3 separate regions of the Homo sapiens genome follow, and all the other regions are linked to region 3. The links are contacts of gene promoters, found by promoter capture Hi-C in human tissues and cell types (Jung and others, 2019). All regions are on one chromosome and are shown on one strand. The core of a region is centred on a gene start or on the middle of the fragment in contact, and the rest is flanking DNA. Distances in the headings are between cores, read along the strand shown.

Region 1 (2,700 bases), core at 63-2,562, 64 kb after region 3:
GAAAGCAAGTTACAGTATGCCGTATGTGGAGTCTCAGTTTTCAGAAAAGTAGCATGTAGTGAAGTACTTTAGACACTTTAAAAATGAGGCTGCTCTGGATGTTATGAAATCCTTCTTTGATTCAGAAGGCACCTCAGAGACCTGCAGGGCTCAGCCTAATTGTTTGAGCATCGGGTAATCTTTTGTAGACACATGCTAATACGATTAACAGAATATCAGAGAATAGTCTGTTCTTATGGAACGCCTACTTACACTTTCAGTGAATTTTTTAATTAGTCTATGATAATGCTTGCTTCTCTTTATTCTTTAGAGAATGGAGAAATTGCTAGAAACCATTGATCAGCTTCACCTGGAGTTTGCCAAGAGGGCTGCTCCTTTCAACAATTGGATGGAGGGCGCTATGGAGGATCTGCAAGATATGTTCATTGTCCACAGCATTGAGGAGATCCAGGTAATGGAACCGCAACTCTGTATGCCCTATGCATTAGAAGTGAGTTGTCATTTAAACTTAAGAGTCCTGTTATTTGGTTTCTTGTTTTCTTGCTTTAAAAAAAAATTAACAAATGTGGCTAGAAAGCCCAAATTACCCTTGAACCTTAGCTTAAAAATGTGTTTAGTACTCTGTGTTGCAAACCCGTTAAAATCAATCAAGTAATGGTGAATGTGTCTCAGAAGCTCTGTTCTTTAAAAAAGAATGCTGAGGCTGGGCGCAGTGGTTCATGCTTATAATTCCAGCACTTGGGGAGGCTGAGGCGGGTGGATTGCTTGAGCTCAGGTGTTCGAGACCAGCCTGGCCAATGTGGCAAAACCCCGTCTCTACAAAAAATACAAAAAAAAATTAGCTGGGTGTGGTGGTGCACGCCTGGAGTCCCAGCTACTGGGAAGGCTGAGGTGGGAGGATCGCTTGAGCCTGGGAGGCAGAGGTTGCAGTGAGCCAAGATCACGCCATTGGACTCCATCCTGGGTAACAGAGTGAGACCCTGTCTCAACAACAACAACAACAACAACGACAACTACAACTACAACAACTGCTGCATCATTGAGCAAAATAAACATATGTGCTCTTGGAGTTATTCATGAAAAAGTTGTAAGTGTACTAGCTGCTGAGTTAACTACTTTGCAAACGTGTGCATATTACTGTTTATTTAGATCTACAGAGTTTTTTGCCAGATTGTAAACCATAAGAAGCCACAAATCAGCACCTACCTTTTGCCTACTGCCAATCTAAAATGTTCTGCTTATAGTTTTTTCTGGAACTTCAGAACTATAAACAAAGCTTCTAAGTGGTGACGTTAGGGAGGAAAGTTAATCTCGGTTAGCCAGGACATAATTTATTTAGAGAATTTGTACAGTGAATTTGATGTATAATAGAATAAAAAGAGAAAATACTTTTTACTCTTTTTTTTCTGTAAAATAGATATGTCATCAAAAAGAATCCAAGTAGAAAGGAAATCCTGAAGGTTGGGATTTGAAACCACACCTCCCTACCAGGAGCCGTCTAGAAGGGTTTGCACCTGCACGCCAGGGGAAAGAAAGTGCTTCCATGAACATTGGAGTTGCCTTTTGAAAGAGGCTCCGATGGTGTTTCCTGCGTGCACTCTTAAGCACAGGCCAACAGTCTAAAATCGTTTATTTTTGGAATAAGTGAGACCTCTAAGCACGCCTTGGAAGTCACACTCTTTGTCAAAGCTCTGTTGGCAGCTGACCTGTTGCTGCACCTAAAGAGAACAGTAGCTTCACACTCAAAGGTGCTCCACGAGGCAGTGAGGTCTTTGAGCCGCTGAATTTGTGGGGCTGCTCATGTTCAGGTCAAAGAATAGGTTTGATAAATGGCTCTTTAGAGAGCCTTCTGGGAAGAGTTGGTTTCTGTGACCTTTTCTTTTTGAGGAATAGGGATGTACTTCCTGGTTTTCTTTAGATATAATGGTAGCAAATGTTAGATGCTTTTGTAGGACTGCAAAGGTAACACTGGCCATTAGAAAGGGCATCTAAGGGCTGAGCATGGTGGCTCATACCTGTAATCCCAACACTTTGGGAGGCCAGGCGGGGAGGATCACTTGAGGCCAGGAGTTTGAGACCAACCTGGGCAACATAATGAGACCCTGTCTCTGCAAAAGATAAAAAAATTAGCCAGGCATCATGATGTATGCCCTATAGTCCCAGCTACTCAGGAGACTGAGGCAGGAGGATTACTTGAGCCCAAGTGTTCAAGGCTGCAGTGAGCCATGATTGCACCACTGCACTCCAGCCTGAGTGACCTAGCGAGACCCTGTCTCAAAAAAAAAAAAAAAAAAAAAAAAAAGGAAGTGCCGCTAAGTTAAGTTCTGCTCGTCAGCAGAAAATAAGAAAGACCTAAACAATAGCTGGTGATCAAAATCAGTGAAAGGAAAACTGATTAAAAAAAATTATTTTTTAAAAGACTCTACATGAATAGCCACCAATATTATTAATAGTCATCATGACATCCTTTTTCCATTTTCCAGGAACTTGACTTCTGTGTACCTAAAGAGTTTTTTCTAAAGCATTCAGAATGTGTTTTTCTCCAGAGACTCTTGCAATCATCAAGGCATTTACTTGTGTGCGGAAAGGAATATCAAAGCCTTTGAAATTAACACTCAAGCCACATTGTTTTTCTCCACTTGTGTCTCGGGTGTAGAGTCTGATCACTGCGCATGAGCAGTTCAAGGCCACGCTGCCCGA
Region 2 (2,700 bases), core at 99-2,598, 62 kb before region 3:
CAATAAAACTATTCAGTTGCAAACACACGTTACCTTTCATGAAAAAAGGATGACTCAGAGGGTAGAACCAAGAATCCGATGGGTGGAGCCAAGTGCTACAAAGAATTATTCTCAAGCCTTGAAATCTAAAAAAGAAACTCCCAATATTTGCTTGATTGGATTTCAGAATTTCTACTCACAAGTCACTTATTTATATCTTTTATTTTGGCTCCTTTTGAATGGGAATGTTTATAGCTGTTATAATAGATCTATACCACCATTCTATGTTGGGTGTGGGGAGTGGGGACCAGATAACTTGCCTCTCATGGGAAACAGAACTTAATCTAATCTTCTGAGGAATGTTGATGGATATGACTAACCATATGTACTGTTAAGTAGACACAGTGCTCAAGATAACCCTAAGCAGTACTGATAGAGAATTATGAAAACAGGACATCAAGCCAGGCAATGGTGACTCATACCTGTAAACCCGGCATTTTGAAAGGCTGAAGTGGGCAGATCACTTGAACCCAGGAGTTGAGACCAGCCTGGGCAACATAGCAAAACCCCATCTCTACCAAAATAAAAACTAAAAAACAAAAATTAGCTGGGCTTGGTGATGTGTGCCTGTAGTCCCAGCTTACTAGGGAGGCTGAGGTGGGAGGATTGCTTGAACCCAGGAGGTTGAGGCTGCAGTGAGCCATGATCATGCCACTGCACTCCAGCCTGGGTGGCAGAGTGAGACCCTGTCTCCGAAAAAGGAAATAGGACATTAGAGTAAGCTTAATGTAACTACTGATGCTTGTTGAATAACTGATGAGTATTTACAAAGGTAGAGATGAGGTATAACAATTGTAGATTTAATTCTAGATAGGTAGAGCTGAAAATTCCCTAGAAATTTATAGCCACTCATGACTACCTGCATGCATGCATTTTGGATGTTTTTTGTGGATGCATGCGCTTTTGCTTGATAGTGAATTTAGCTAATTCTGTATTTATGAACTGGCATACTTTTGTGGATCTTGATTTCTTTTTCCCCCAACTTCTAGTTTTATAGACTCACAGATGGAGAGGAACCAGATCTAAAGAGCCTCACCTGCACCTGGATCTTATTTAGATTTTGAAATTCTGAATTCAAGCACACATTGCAGTGGGATGAGACTCTTAGGAACCTTAAGAGGGGTGAATATATTTTCATGTGGGAGAGGCATGAATCACTGGGAATCAGGGCAGACTGTGGCATATTGATTCTAAAAATGACCTCCGTAATCCCTGCCTCCTGGATTTAATCCCTTCCCTTGAGTGTAGGTGGGACCTGCGACTTGATTCAATCCACAGAATACAGCCTGCATGACAGAATATGTGTGATTACATGTAAGTGATTACATTACATATGATTGTAACATCAATCTTTCCAGGAGACTCTACTTTGCTGGCTTTGAGAAAACAAATGATTCTGGAAAGATTAATATGGCAAGGACCTAAGGAACTCCTTCAGCTAATACCCAGCAAGAAACAGAGGCCTTTAGTCCAATGGTCCACAAAGAAACAAATGCTACTAACAACCACATGAGCTCGGAAGCAGATCCTTCCCCAGTCGAGTCTCAGAAAAGCCTGCAGCCCAGATGACATCTTGATCACAATTTTGTGAGGCCCTAAGACAGAGGACTCAGTCTAGTTGTGTCTGGAATCCTGAACCTCAGAAACTGTGAAATAATAAGTTTATGTTGTTTTAAGCCAGCAAGTTTGTGATAATATTGTTACACAGCAAAAGAAAAAACTAATATAAAGTTTAACAATGCCTCGAGTGTTTACTGATCCTGTGACAAGGAAAGTAAGAAGAAACAGAACAGAAGACTTTGTCCATGATCCTTACTGGAATTGTTAACTTGCCTGCTTCTACACTGCCAACCACAGGAGTAGAGACAGCTTTAGCTTTCATTACATGAAAAGTACTGCCAACTTGGGTAATTCAATATAAGACCAGAGCCTTCAGGGAGCCAACAAAGAAAAATACATCTTATTTAAGGAGAACGACCAGTCAAAAAGAAGAATATAAGTCAAAACTAACAGAACATTTATTAATCAGGATAGAGTAGCTGAAAAAGATAGACAACATCTTGAATTGTAAAAAATAGTAAAAGTGAGCTAGGCATGGTGGCTTTTGCCTGTAATCAGCTACTTGGGGGCTGAGGTGGGAGGATCACTAGAGGCCAGGAGTTCAAGACCAGCCTGGACAACATAGAAAGACCCAGTCTCTGCAAAAATTTTTAAAAATTAGCCAGACGTGGTGGAGTGTGCCTGTGGTTCTAGCTACTCAGGAGGCTAAGGCAGGAGGATCCCTGGAGCTCAAGAGTTCGAAGCTGCAGTAAGCTATAATCACACTACTGTACTCCAGCCTGGGTGAGTGAGCAAACCCCAACTCTTAAAAAAAATAGTCAAAGAAGCCTCACTTTTAGTAATGGTGCAATAGCTTGATTGAACTTACTCTCTTGCAGATAAAAAATAGTAAAATCTTCACAAAATATAAAAAACTTAAGGTACTAAAGAATGACCCAAAGCAGTCAAACAGCGGTGAGAAGTGACCCTTGCACCAGTAAAGATCTTTTATTGTGATCTCAGATTTTTTTCTCATTTATTAATTCACTGCAAGAAGCCAGCTAGTCTCTGCTAAACCTCTAGGACTGGAGTTTGTTCATTCCCTCCCATGTCCTGGCCTTC
Region 3 (2,700 bases), core at 87-2,586:
ATTGAGATATAAACTGAATTGCAGGCAGGCATCCCATCAGCTCGTCTGGTGCCTAAGGCAACCTCTGGTTTACAGTAGTTGCTTAATACATATTTGATTTAAAAATTTCAGCCTACTTGTCCCAAGGGTCCTCATTTTGCTTCCTGCGGCAGCATAACTGATAGGGAACAGCTAGCCAGCACTAGGGGGATGAAAAGGCGTTAAGTGCAACCCACAGGGCGACATGGAAATATAACACGAAGCTGGCCGCTTGCCCTTCATTGTCAGCTCTCTTAAATTTATGCCCGGTAGGTGAGAGCTGACACTTCCTGCCTTTGGTTTGGTTCCTAACATTTTAATAGGATGGATCCAAATCCTGTGCCTTGATTTCCCCAGGTGAGGGTGAGGAGGAGAGAAAGAAGAGGGGGGTTCTGTAGCTTTTAAACTTTACTCCTTAGGGGCCTGTATGTATGTATGTGTGTGTGTGTGTGAGAGGGAGGAAGAGAAACAGAGAGAGAGAAGAGAGAGACAGAGATGAGAGAGGTATGAGAGACACAGGAGAGAGAGACAGATGAGAGAGAGAAAGAGAGACACGACAGAGAGAGAGAGACGAGAGAGAGAGAGACACGGGAGAGAGAGACAGAGGAGAGAAGAGGAGAGGAGAGAGACACGAGAGACAGATGAGAGACAGTGAGACACGAGAGAGAGAGAGAGATGAGAGGAGAGAGAGACATGTGAGAGAGACACAGGAGAGACAGAGATGAGAGAGAGATATGAGAGAGATCTATGAGAGAGAGACACTGGAGAAAGAGGGACAGAGATGAGAGAGAGACAGACGAGAGACAGACACAAGAGAGAGGGACCGATGAGCGGAAAGAGAGGCACGAGAGAGAGATGAGAGAGAGAGAAGAGGGGTCTCCAATGAATATGTGGGAATATATGGAAAACGCGAATATCCAAATGATATTTGGAAAACTTGGCTGTGTTGGGGTGGTCAGGGACCCAGCCTCTTAGGTGTCCCTCCCCTGGCTCGCGATCACCCACCCGGGACACCGACGGACCCCGCGCCGCTAACCAGCCGCTCTCAGAGCGTGGGTGGCAGGCGTGGCTCTGCTCGGGGCCGGCCGCTCCCCTCACGTTCCCGGAGGCCTCGGCGGAAGGCGTGCAGGCGGCCTCTGGGCGGCGGCTGCAGGGGAGACAGTGGAGGGGCCCGGCGCCCTTGTCCGCCCGCACGTGCTCGGGGCGGGGCGGCTGGGGCCCGACGGGCGGGGCCGGGGGCGGTGGCGGCGGGGGCGTGGCCGGGCGGCCACGTGACGGGCGGCGCGGCTATTAAGCCGCGCGGCAGCTGCTCGCAGCCGGAGCTGGTGCTTCGCCCGAGACCCAGCGCCCAGGCGTGTCGCCCCGAGAGGAGCCGCGCGAAGGTCACCCCGCGCCCGCCGCCCGCCGCCCGCCGCCTCCGTGGGTCCGTTTGCCAGTCAGCCCGTGCGTCCGAGCCCCTCGCGCCCCGCCGCAGCCCCGGCCAACCGAGCGCCATGAACCAGATAGAGCCCGGCGTGCAGTACAACTACGTGTACGACGAGGATGAGTACATGATCCAGGAGGAGGAGTGGGACCGCGACCTGCTCCTGGACCCAGCCTGGGAGAAGCAGCAGAGGAAGGTCAGCAGGGGCCCGCGGGCCGCCCGCGCGTGGTGGGGCCGGGTCCCCCGCGGGGCTCCCGTGCGCGTGGCCGCGTGGCCTGGCGACTGGCGAGAGGGCGCTTTGTGGAGGTGCTGTGCTGTCCTGTGCCCTCGCAGCCCCGGGGGCCCCTTAGGAAAGAGGACACGTCCGGGGACAGGCAGGACACTGGGCGTCGTGTGTGTGCGCGCGCGCTAGCAGCATCGGAGGTACAGATGTGGTTCTGTTCCTCACACCAACCCGCGTTAGACCAGATCTGAAGGGGTCTCTGGTCTGCTCCTGACCCCTTGAGTCTGTGACCTTGGCCCCCGAGTTATACTCTCCTGGCCCGCTTGTGTCCATTTACCCCAGCCTCTCTCTTCCCCATTGAAAGAAGCAAAAGAACATCAGCTTCATTGCAATTTCCACCGGGCTGCCCCTAGAGTCATGGAAAGTCATTTATTCAATCTTTTGGGTTCCTTGGAGAGGGATGTTGTATGAACACTAGACATTTACCGATAGTGACAATTATTTCACACTCTATTTATAATTCATTGAGGTAAGCACACAGGGACGAAGGAGTCAGCCAGCTTCTAAAAGCTCCCTCCCCATTTTGATTGGCGTTCTCTGGGGGCCCAGTGGAACATTCCACTTTTTCAAGGTTTCCTCTTGATCCTCTTGGCTGGAATAAATAGGGAATGCTCACCAGGAGGCTTAATCCCGCCTCTTACTTGACTAGGCAGGGAGCCTGGTTGGGTCAGACATGACAACAGAGACCTGCCAACCCAACCTTAAGATAACGGGGTTATGGCAAAAGCCAAACGCTCTGAACTTTTTTCCGCCTATTTTTCTGGGCGTGGGGCAAGATAGATTTCCCTTCTAAGGACCTGCTTTAGGTGGATAGCCTGTGGTGACCATAGTGTGTATGGGAATCTCTGTATAATGGGTACTGTAGCTGATTGTGCGATAGTATTTGGTGAATAGGGGTATGATGGTGGAGAACACACATCCCAAACTCCTCTCGCAGCAAACAGCGTTAGCTGGAAGGAGAGATGATTATCAAATA

Evidence for each region. The method cuts DNA at HindIII sites, captures the fragments that hold promoters and counts their contacts. A contact is called where the count stands out against the background at its distance.
Region 1: a contact is called between a fragment that was not itself captured here and the fragment with the promoter of ACTN2 in region 3, in 2 of the 25 tissues and cell types used here (bladder and neural progenitor cells).
Region 2: a contact is called between a fragment that was not itself captured here and the fragment with the promoter of ACTN2 in region 3, in 1 of the 25 tissues and cell types used here (adrenal gland).

The regions. Positions count from the first base shown.
Region 1 is chr1:236,748,814-236,751,513 of GRCh38, forward strand. It overlaps ACTN2 (actinin alpha 2), which reads left to right. Exons shown (of 21, transcript NM_001103.4): 14 at 311-451; 15 at 2,657-2,700. Among named protein-coding and RNA genes, the nearest start is that of MTR, 45 kb to the right of the region's middle. The HindIII fragment of the contact is 7,634 bases long and covers 1-2,700 here.
Region 2 is chr1:236,623,552-236,626,251 of GRCh38, forward strand. No RefSeq gene overlaps it. Among named protein-coding and RNA genes, the nearest start is that of HEATR1, 20 kb to the left of the region's middle. The HindIII fragment of the contact is 4,072 bases long and covers 1-2,700 here.
Region 3 is chr1:236,685,163-236,687,862 of GRCh38, forward strand. It overlaps ACTN2 (actinin alpha 2), which reads left to right and starts at 1,337. Exons shown (of 21, transcript NM_001103.4): 1 at 1,337-1,637. The coding sequence starts at 1,512. RefSeq lists a silencer at 1,193-1,282. The HindIII fragment of the contact is 16,282 bases long and covers 1-2,700 here.